4 separate regions of the Homo sapiens genome follow, and regions 1, 3 and 4 are each linked to region 2. Evidence: promoter capture Hi-C in human tissues and cell types (Jung and others, 2019). All regions are on one chromosome and are shown on one strand. The core of a region is centred on a gene start or on the middle of the fragment in contact, and the rest is flanking DNA. Distances in the headings are between cores, read along the strand shown. Region 1 has its middle 72 kb from the start of WTIP. Region 2 holds the start of ZNF181 (zinc finger protein 181). Region 3 overlaps LINC01838 (long intergenic non-protein coding RNA 1838). Region 4 has its middle 46 kb from the start of WTIP.

Region 1 (2,700 bases), core at 112-2,611, 180 kb before region 2:
TACTGATTTTCAGTTTGTTCAACTTTTTGTTGTTTTGAGGACGGGAGTAACAAGCTCTTTAGATGTTGGAGTGGAAACCACAAATATATATATATGTACTATTTCTCATTATCAAGTTTTATTTCCCCCATTCTTTTGTCAAAACAAATGTTGGATAGTTATAAAAGCTTTACAGCATATTTGTCCACTAATTTCATCATTTTCATCATTTTTGTGCTTCTCAATTCACTCTTCTGGTTAATGATTTTTATGTCACTACTTCTTTGTGTGCATGGTTATTCTTTATTGGATGCCAGATACTGAATTTTACATTATTGAATGTTGTATTTGTTTGTATTGCTTTAAACAATGTTGGACCTTGGTATGCCATTCAATAAAATTACTTAGCAGCATGATTTCCTCTTGCCTGCTTGGCACTAGGTCTTTCTGTTTTAAACTTTTTTAGTATAAGACCAGAGCAGCCTTGAGTCTGTCAGCCCCGTTCTTTAGGTGATACCTTTCTATCTGGTGTTTTCTGTACTAATAGGTGTTCCACACTGGCAGGTGAACATACAATTCCCAGCCCTGGATGAGCTCAAATAATTGTTTGGGATATTGCTTTGTAGGGGTTCCTTTCTAAACCTCAGGTAGTGTCTGGTCATGCTTGTGCAGATCGGGACTTAGCCAAAGATTTACATGGATACTTCTGCAAATCTTTGCCTCTCTCCTCTCTCCTATTATCCCACCTAAATTATACCCATGGTGGTCACCATATATACTTATTTTTCTTCTACACTGTAAGCAGGAATAATTGTAGGGCTCACGTGTTGTAACCTAGTGAGTTACAGAGAAACACCACACTCTGAGACGAATTCAGGTGTCCTTTATTAGCCAGCGACTGAGAGATGGCTAGTGCTCAAAATTCTCTAGGCCCCAAAGAAGGGGCTAGATTTTCTTTTTTACTTTGGTTTAGAAAGGAGAGGGGGGGAGTCTAGTTAAAACAATCTTACAGAAGTAAAGCAGGCAAAAAGTTATAAGGATAAATGGTTACAGGAAAGCAAACAGTTCCAGGTGCAGGGGCTTTAAATCTATCACAGGGTGACAGATGCGGGGCTTTGGGTGTTATCAACCAGATGAATTCCTAGGAACTGCGGATATAGCTTTCCACAGTATCTTATCAGTTAATTGCATCCTTGGATGTGTTGGGAATCTGCTTGCACAAGTCAAGTCAAGTCCTTGAGGAAGGGAGTGGGTAAGGGGCTGTAAGTGAAGGAGCCAAGATGGAGTCTGTCTGGCTCTCTCAGCTAAGGGAGAGTCAATTCAGGTTAAAACAAGGTTGGGTATCACATTCCCCACTTGTGTTTTTGGGGAATCAAACCATTGATTCCTCGGTTATAACCAGGGGGTTATATTGGGTTTTAAGGTACATAAGCTTGACAGAAGCTATATGTTGTTTTACAAAATTAAGAAACCAATTTAACATACAAGGCTCAAAGACTAAGCCTAACAATAGGGGAGAAAGGGTCCAGCTAACCCAGTGATTAGAGTAGTTAGCAATGGATTCCAGTTAAACATGCTTTGGTACCAGGGGGTGTTATTTTCTCGTTCTTGCTGGTGCCTGTCTAGGTTTTCTCAAACTTTTTGGAGAGTATCTTTTATGACTCCAGACTGATTGGCACAGAAGCAACAACTCTCTCCTAGAGTGGCACATAACCCTCCTTGGGAGAGAAATAGCAGATCTAAGCCTCGGCGGTTTTGAAGAACTACTTCAGCTAGAGATTTTACTTGGGTATGTAGTATATTTATGGCTGATTGGAGATTGCTTAAATCAGCATCTACTTGTTGAGACAGGGACATTAGTCCAGTTTCTCCCTGAACCAGGGCAGCCATGCTGATGGCTGCTGATCCAGCTATGCTAAGGCCAGCCAGGAGGGGTACAAGGAGTGGGGTGGCTCGGCAAAACCTGGGATGTAATTCAGGGGGAGCAATAAGAAGTTATCCTTCTGGCCCACTATACACGTAGACCTGGGGGAGTACATGAACCAACACACACAGGAGAGGTCCTGGTTTAGTTCCATTGATGTGGCAAGTGAGACCTGAAGTGCAGGCTAACCAGGTATTGTTAGGTGCCTGGTAGGAGACTGAGGTGCTTAAGGAGGTAAGCATAGACTGATTACAGGTAGCCTGAAAGGGAGAAGCAGATAAGTTATATCCGGTGCTAATTAGACAAGAAGTGTTTCCAGACGTATCTCCTAATGGGAGGGCATGGGGGCATGTACAACAAGAAAGAGAGCCAATTTTAAGTGCGGCTTCTACTCCTAATCCAATATAATATGGGGGTTTGTCCTTTAGGCACAACCAACAATCTTGGGCTAGTTTAGGCTGGGTGAGATTGAGGAGGTGATGTACCCCACCTAGAATGGACATCAGGCTGGGTTGGAGGTGCTGTCATTGCAGGTGAGGTTTGGGGACCAGGAATGGCAGTGGGACAGTTAAATCAACCTTGTCTGGATGTTTTGGGAACATAAGGTCATCTAAATCAGTTAAAGGCCTGATTGGCTTAGGAGGGCTCCATGAGACGAGGATTTTTTTTGGATGGTGAACATAGTTCCAACATCAAATCCCGGGATATAAAGCCTTAATCCCTATGACATGACATAATACCATTGAGCTAAATTAGGATTATGGATGTTTATAGTGAGAGGATTGCAATTTCTCCTA
Region 2 (2,700 bases), core at 49-2,548:
GGAGGACCCCCCCCCCGCCCCAAGCCGGCTCCACCTGTAGCTGTGGGCGTGGGAGGGAGACAGAGCGCTCTGGCGGCCAGAGAAGGAAGGAAGATGGAGGGAGGGCGGACTTCTGCTCCCTGACGCTGCTGCTAGGCCCCCTGCGGCCCTCCTGGAGCCCACACCTTTCAGCTGCAGTCTCCCAGCCTTCGTCCCCAGGACGAAGCCCACTAAGCCAGTGCTTTTCCACTGCAGCTGGCTGTTCCGCTTGGGGAGGGTTCCCAGATTGTGCAAAGTGAGGAAGGGTCCCCTGTCCCTGCCCCGCAGGGCCCCCACTCCAGGCCTCCCCCATCTCTCCCTGTCTCTCTCAGAGGTAGAGGCAGCATTAAATTAAAATTTAATTAAAATATTAAAAATAAAGTAAAAAATTCAAATATACAACAGTAGACTGTCTGGCTTGCATACAAAGAAGGCCATTGCCCCTTTGGGTGAGCCGGGCAAGGTCAGGGTCTAAGAAGCGCCTCTGGTGAGAAGCGGTTGTCAGGCTCTGATGGCTGCGGGAGGAGTGACTCCTCCCAGGATGAGGGTCTGTGTCCTCTCAGTGCTCACTCAAGTTCCGTATTTCCAAGTCCTTCCAGGGGGCGTAACGCACGTGAGAACTGCCATTTCTGTCACAGATACGTGGCCGCATGCATTTCCAGGAAATGTCCTTGGTTCGCGAACTACAGCTGGCACAATCCAGCCCAGGGCGTTCTGTGAGCTGTAGTCTCCAGCAAGTGAATTCCAAAAAAACCTCAAAGACCTCAAAGACCATACAGGGTGGACAGCGTAGTAGCAGGGTTTGGGAAGAGAGGAGCTCTTTTGCTAGCAAAGGCGAGAGCTCGCCTGGTACAAGGTCTGCCCACGTCCCGGGAGATAAACATTAGTGTGAGCGCACGCTAGACCCAGAAGAGTTTGCCACGGCCGCACGGTTTTCTGGGAAGTGTAGTTTCTTGGTCCCGGCGCCATTGTCCTTAAAAGTAGAGGGTGGCCCTTGGTTCCGAGGTGTATCTTTCACCTCATCAGTATGACTATATGCCCCAGGACACTTCCCGCATGGTCCTAACTGCCGGGCTCTGGGACGACAGCCCCAGGCGGTTTAGTTTTTTAGGAAACCGAGATCTGTTTGCCCGCGGCGCCCCAGGTCCGCGCGGCCGCAGAGACTCCTGGGAAGTGTGGTCTTCCGGTACCTGCGGTTCGTTGCGCCTGGAATTTTGTCCCCTGCGCGGATGATTCTGGGAAATGTCGATCGGCTGTGGGCGGCGCACTGGGTCCGCCCCGCTGTAGCCTCAGGCCTGACGGCGACTCCCAGGCTCCGGGACGATTCTGGGCAGTGTCGTCCCCAGAGGTCGGCGGCCGTTGCCCGCTCACCAGCGACGCGGGGCGCCTGCGGGGACGGTGAGGCCCTGCTGAGGACTCCGGCCAGTATGAGTCCCGGGGGCGGCGGCGGGGCTCAGGCCCTGGGTCTGCCCCGCGGTGTGACCCCGGCCGGTGCCTTGGTTTTCCTGGCCTTCATGTCCTCCTATGTAAACGCGGGGTGATGACGGCGCCGACCTCTTGGCGCTGTTGTGAGAGTGAAGTGGGCGCGTGGTTAGACGCCAGCCACAGTTGTCTTTGGGTTATGTCGTCATGAAGCCGGCGCTCTACAGTTGTGTAACCTTGAACAAATGGGTTCAGTATCTTGGAATTTCAGTTTTGTCATCGTTTAAAAAATAGATCTGGAAAAATGTGAACGCACACCGTGCATAGTGGTGAAGACTGAACGAGCTGATAAAGTTTTTACCATTGTTTTATGAGGATTTTATTTACAGAGTAATTGATTTTCCTCGCAGGTGGCACCTGGTAAATGGTTAGCCCTTGCGGAGAAACACCCTGTTAGTTCCCAGGGAGAGATTGGCGCCCTGGAGAGTGATTACCAGTGTGCCTTTCCATTATGGTGTGTCACAGGTGCCGCAAGATAAGCCTGATTTTTCATGACTGCTTTTTCCTGCCCTTCTGTGCCCTCAGGACACTGCCCATCTCTAAGATAAGAGCCTGGAAAGAGGACTCTGTTGGCTGTTGGAAATTGCAGAGTAATGCCTCAGGTAGGTCGGTGTGTCCGCAAATCTTCCTGAAACACTTTATCAGGACTGTGTGTTTGCTTTGCTTCTCCTGCCTGTTCCCACCTAACCAAGTCCATTTAAGGGACTGGATCCATGGTTCCTTTCAGTATAGGAAGGACGGAGCCCACAGGAGAGCTCCAAGGTATTATCCTCCTCACCCAGTGTTCCTCTTTTCTACAGTTTTCTGCTAGAAGACTTTCTAGTCTTGCCAACATTTTAAAACTGTAATTCACAATGCAACTTTGGAATGTAAGGTTATTCGGTTTATGGTTGTCAAAACTGTACCATGTGGTCTCAAGTGAAGAGATGCTTGCAGTCATCCTTGATTCTTCCCTTTGACTTATACCTATATTCAGATCCTCTAGTTGGAGCTAAGCTATACACTGTATACAGAATCTGACCATTAGTTACCCCAGCACTACCACCACCACTACCACCCCGGTAGTGATAGCAATAAAGCCACCTGGATTATTGCGGTAGCCTCCTAGCTGGATTCCCTGCATCTGCCCTTAACCCTCATCAGTCTGTTCTCAGTACAGCTGTGACCGTGGTCCTATTGTTACATAAATTCCTGTCATTC
Region 3 (2,700 bases), core at 8-2,507, 170 kb after region 2:
CAGCGCGATCAGAGAAGCTCCCTTACCCCCACCCATCGCAGTGGGAGTGAGTCTTCAGATCTACCCCCAAGACAACGAAATCCTACCCGGGCCATTGAAGGGAAACCTCCACTCCAACCCCCAGAAGACGCCTTAGATGAGAAAGTGAAGAGATATTGTATGAGCTCATTCATCAAAGGCCATGCCATCACCAGCTCAGGCAGTGCTGCTAGGGGATTCCTGCCTCTCTGGAGGTCCAGTTCTCTCTGAAGACAGAGAAGATGCAGGGAGGAAGGGTTTCAAACAGGAACTCTCAACCCACGTCTGCCAGTTGTAGACTCTGTAAACAAAGTTCCAACTCGCCCGCTGCTGCCACTGCCGCTGCTATTTTTTGAGGTCAAGGTGAGCTGCCCAAACTCTCCTAAGCTTTTTTGTATAGTCGTTGGAGAAGATGTAGGCTTGAAGAAGAAAGCAGAGCCCCAGTCTAACCACATGTTCTTAGAAGATAAAGCCAAGGCCCCTTCAGATAGCAGTGCAGTGCCCCTCAGCCTGCCCCTTCTTTCTTCCTGCTTGTTGCAGAGATGGCAGGCACCCCACCCTTGGCCATTTTCACCTTGTAGTTTGCTGATACTACCATGTTACCAGCCACTGACTTGGCTGTCCTGTCTTCCAGGCCCCCAGTCCCTTCTGCCCCTGTACCAGTCCTCACCCCATATACAGATCATTAAATGAAATGCCCATATCCTAACTCTCCTTTTTTTTTTTTTCCTATTCTTGTTGTTTCTCCCCTTAGGTTCAATATCATTTTGGGAGTTCCCCTTTATGGGAATAAAAGCCATTTCCATTTCAGTCCCTCATCTGCAGATTTTTTTGGGGGGTGGTGGGGCAGGGTCCTGCTCTGTCACCCAGGTTGTAACGTAGTGGTGCAATCATGGCTCACTGCCGCCTAAAACTCCTGGGCTCAAGCAATCCTCCCACCTCGGCCTCCAGAGCAGCTAGGACTACAGGCATTTTTTTCTTCTAGAGATGGAGTCTTGCTATGTTGCCCAGGCTGGTCTGGAACTCCTGCTTTTGAGTGATCCTTCTGCATCAGCCTCTCAAAAGTGCTGGGATTACAGATGTAAGCCACCATACCCAGCCCAGATCTCTACTTTTTTTTTTTTTTTTTTTTTTGAGACGGAGTCTCGCACTGTCACCAGGCTGGAGTGCAGTGGTGCGAACTTGGCTCACTGCAACCTCCACCTCCCGGGTTCAAGTGATTCTCCTGCCTCAGCCTCCAGAGCAGCTGGGACTACAGGCATGTGCCACCATGCCCAGCTAATTTTTGTATTTTTAGTAGAGACGAGGCTTCACCATGTTGGCCAGGATGGTCTCTATCTCCTGACCTCGTTATCTGCCTGCCTCGGCCTCCCAAAGTGCTGAGATTACAGGTGTGAGCCACCACGCCTGGCCTAGATCTCTACTTTTGACCTCACCACATCTCCTAACCCCTTGGCCTTTGCTTCAAGTCTACCTCCTGCAGAATTGAGTCATCTATCAGTTTAGTAATCTAATCAGAATCTATCTAGTCATCTAATCAGAATTGAGTCATTGTGGATTTTTCTCCCTTTTTCTTACAGACTCTTCCACCTGTATGCCCATCTTCATAGACCGGCCCATCACTGGTGCCTCAAGCATTTTCACTATCACAGCCAGTAATCTGCAGACTCAACCTCAAGCCTACTTTGTACTTTGGTATAAACTGCATGGATACCAATCCCTTTTCACAGGTTTTCATCTCCTGGTCTCCCATAGGATCCAGGATGAGTATCCTCCCATTTGACCAGTTCCATCCCAGTATGGAGCAGATATCCCTTGTAAAGAACACAGTCTCCACCAGCCCACCTGCTTTTATGGTCAACAGCCCTACCTGAATTTCCAACATTGCCTTTTGACCCAAGAAACACCTATCACCTGAAATCTAGGGTTCCAGACAGGCATCAACAGGAAACCACTCTCTTCAATGCCCTGTCTTTTCTGGCCCACCTACCACTGCTTCTGCAGTCACCTCCACTATAGTAAGCAGACCCTCTTCAGACTTGGCATCCAAGCCTGCCTTTTACTCTGATGAAATCAACATGGATACCATGCCCATTTCCCCATCTGTTATCTTCCTGTCTCTCCCTGCAATGTTAACAGCTGTTTCCCTTTGAAGAACCTGGCAGCCCCCAGAAATCCTTCCTACTTAACCTCTACTGCAGCCCTGGAACCCAATGACAGCACCACTCAGGCAGCTTTTGGGAATTTGACTCCCCCATGTCCACCTTTGGCATCTGCTATGGTTTGAATGTGTCAACCAAATTTCGTGTATTAAAAACTCAATCCCCAAATTCATATGTAAATATGTTTGAAGGTGGGGGCCTTTGGGAGGTAATGAGGATTAGATAAAGTCATCAGGGTGGACCCCTATGATGGGACTGGTAAAAGGAAGAGACACCTGAGCTGACAGGCTCTTGCTCTTGCCATGTGATGTGCTCCACCATGTAACGACATAGCAAGAAGGTCTTCACCAGATGCCAGCACTGTGCTCTTGATTTGCTATCAGAGAGGATAGTGCCATACCTCTGGTTGGAGACAGATGACTTCAATACAAAGCTTATGACCTCAGTCAGAGTGCCTGGGGTTCAACTGGGTGTAGCACATCTGTTGCAGGTGCAAATGTGTGTTTAAAAGTCCCTGTAT
Region 4 (2,700 bases), core at 120-2,619, 210 kb before region 2:
TTCATCTCAAAAAAAATATATATATATATACAGTAAATTGTGTAATACAGTCACCCTACAATCCTATAGAACACTAGAACTTATTCCTCCTATCTAGCTGCACTTTTGTATCCATCCATCAATCTTTGGCTATATTCCCACCTCCCCCAACTCTTTCTTGCCTCAAGTAACCCTTAGTCTACACTCTCCTTCTATGAGAGCAACTTTTTAACCTTCCACATGTGAGTGAGAACATACAGTATTTATCTTTCTGTGTCTTGGCTTCTTTTGCTTAACACAATGACTCCAAGCTCATTTATGTTGCTGCAAATGACAGCATTTTATTCTTTTTCATAGCTAGATCATATTCCATTGTGTATTTATACCATATGTTCTTCATTTGTTCACATGTTCATGGACACTTAGGTTGATTCCATGTTTTGTCCATTGTGAACAGTGTTGCAATAAACATGAGAGTGCAGATACCTCTTTGATATACTGACTTCCTTTTGTCTGGATGTGTACCCAGTAATGGGATTGCTTGACCATATATGGTAAATCTATTTTTAGTTTTTTGAGGAACCCCCCATAGTGTTTTTCCTCATGGCTGTAATAATTTACGTTCCCACAAACAGCATACAAGAGTTCTCTTTTCTTTGCTTTCTCACTAGCATTTGGTATCTTTTGTCTTTGTCATAGTAGCCATTTTAACTGGGATGAGATGATATCTGAATGTGATTTTGATGTGCATATCCTGTATGATAAGTGATGTTGAGCATTTTAAAAATATTAGTTGGCCATATGTATGTCATCTTTTGAGAGATGTTTATTCAGCTAATTTGTCCATTTCTTTTTCTTTTTTTTTTTTGAGATAGAGTTTCACTCTTGTTGCCCAGGCTGGAGTGCAATGGTGCAATCTTGGCTCACTGCAACCTCTGCCTCCCAGGTTCAAGTGATTCTCCTGCCTCAGCCTCCCGAGTAGCTGGGATTACAGGCACGGGCCACCACGCCCAGCTAATTTTATATTTTTAGTAGAGGCATGGTTTCACCATGTTGGCCAGGCTGGTCTTGAACTCCTGACCTCAGGTGATCCATCCACCTGAGCCTCCCAAAGTGCTGGGATTACAGGCATGAGCCACTGCACCTGGCCAAGTTGTCCATTTTTACATCAGATTATTTGTATTTTTTTTGACATTGAATTGTTCAAGTTTCTCATATATTGTGGATATTAATCCCTTGTTGAATGAATAGTTTGCAGTTTTCTTCCCATTCTGCAAGTTGTCTCTTGTCTCTGTTGATTGTTTTCTTTGCTGTGCAGGAGCTTTTTAGTTTAATGTAATCCAATTAGCCTATTTTTGCTTTTGTTTCCTGTGCTTTCAAGTTCTTCACCACAAAATCTTTGCCCAGATCAATGTCTTGAAGCATTTCCCCTGCTTTCTTCGAGTAGTTCCATAGTTTCAGCTCTTAATTTAAGTCTGTAAGCTATTTTGAGTTGATTTTATTAATATGGTGAGATATAGGGGTCTAGTTTCATTTTTCGGCATACAGATATTTAATGTTCCAGGCATCATTCATTCAAGTTTTTTTTTCTCTTGCCTAATTGCTCTAGCTAGGACTTCCAGTACTATGTCAAATAAAAGTGGTGACAGGCCAGGCACGGTGGCTCATGCCTGTAATCCCAGCACTTTGGGAGGCCAAGGCAGGCAGATCACGATGTTAGGTGATTGAGATCATCCTGGCTAACATGGTGAAACCCCGTCTCTACTAAAAATACAAAAAATTAGCTGGGTGTGGTGGCACATGCCTGTAATCCCAGCTACTCTGGAGGCTGAGGCAGGAGAATCGCTTGAACCCGGGAGGCGGAGGTTGCAGTGCGCCGAGATCGTGCCACTGCACTCCAGCCTGGGTGACAGAGCGAGACTCCATCTCAAAAATAAATAAATAAATAAATAAAAGTGGTGATAATGGACGTTCTTGCCTTGTTTCAAATCAATACATGTAACACATCACATCAACAGAATGAGTACAAGAACCATATGATTATCTCAGTAGGTGCAGAAAAAGCGTGATAAAATTCAACAGCCCTTTATAGTAAAAACTCTTAAGAAGCTGGGTATAGAAGGAATGTAGCCCAGTACAATAAATCAGTGTATGGCAAACCCACAGCCAACATCATAGTGAATAGGGAAAAGTACAAAGCTCTTCCAGGAAATGTAAAGAACCAATAAATGTTCTTGCTGCCTTTGTTGAAAATCAGTTGGTTGTAAATGCTTGGACGTACTTCTGAGTTGTCTATTTAGTTTCACTGGTCTGTGTGTCTGTTTTTATGCCAGTACTATGCTGTTTTGTTTACTCTAACTTTGTAGCCTATTTTTAAGTCAAGTCATGCTATGCCTCCAGCTTTGTTCTTTTTGCTCAGGATTGCTTTGGATGCTCAGAGTCGTTTGTGGTTTCATATAAATTTCAGGATTATTTTTTATATTTCTGTGACAATATCATTGATATTTTGATAGGGATTGCATTGAATCTGCAGATCATTTTTGGCAACATGGTCATTTTCACAATAGTGATCCTTCCAATTATGAGCATGGAATATCTTTTCATGTTTTAGTGTCCTCTTCAATTGGTTTCCTCAGTATTTTATAGTTTTTTTGGTGGAGGTCTTCCACCTCCTTTGTTATAGTTATTCTGAAGCTTTTTTTTTGGTAGCTGTTTTATACG

The links. Contacts are between HindIII fragments. The study calls those that stand out against the background at their distance.
Region 1: a fragment that was not itself captured here is called in contact with the fragment with the promoter of ZNF181 in region 2 in 2 of the 25 tissues and cell types used here (mesendoderm cells and thymus).
Region 3: a contact is called between a fragment that was not itself captured here and the fragment with the promoter of ZNF181 in region 2, in 2 of the 25 tissues and cell types used here (liver and mesenchymal stem cells).
Region 4: a fragment that was not itself captured here is called in contact with the fragment with the promoter of ZNF181 in region 2 in 1 of the 25 tissues and cell types used here (mesendoderm cells).

What each region holds. Positions count from the first base shown.
Region 1 is chr19:34,551,912-34,554,611 of GRCh38, forward strand. It overlaps the pseudogene ZNF807P. Among named protein-coding and RNA genes, the nearest start is that of WTIP, 72 kb to the left of the region's middle. The HindIII fragment of the contact is 5,625 bases long and covers 1-2,700 here.
Region 2 is chr19:34,732,945-34,735,644 of GRCh38, forward strand. It overlaps ZNF181 (zinc finger protein 181), which reads left to right and starts at 1,299. Exons shown (of 4, transcript NM_001029997.4): 1 at 1,299-2,102. The coding sequence starts at 2,094. RefSeq lists enhancers at 147-206, 424-941, 662-1,051 and silencers at 1,332-1,381, 1,482-1,541. The HindIII fragment of the contact is 5,149 bases long and covers 1-2,700 here.
Region 3 is chr19:34,905,844-34,908,543 of GRCh38, forward strand. LINC01838 (long intergenic non-protein coding RNA 1838) reads left to right here. Exons shown (of 2, transcript NR_146451.1): 1 at 1-381; 2 at 1,599-2,348. Among named protein-coding and RNA genes, the nearest start is that of LINC01838, 1.9 kb to the left of the region's middle. RefSeq lists an enhancer at 1-24. The HindIII fragment of the contact is 3,568 bases long and covers 1-2,700 here.
Region 4 is chr19:34,526,888-34,529,587 of GRCh38, forward strand. No RefSeq gene overlaps it. Among named protein-coding and RNA genes, the nearest start is that of WTIP, 46 kb to the left of the region's middle. The HindIII fragment of the contact is 3,863 bases long and covers 1-2,700 here.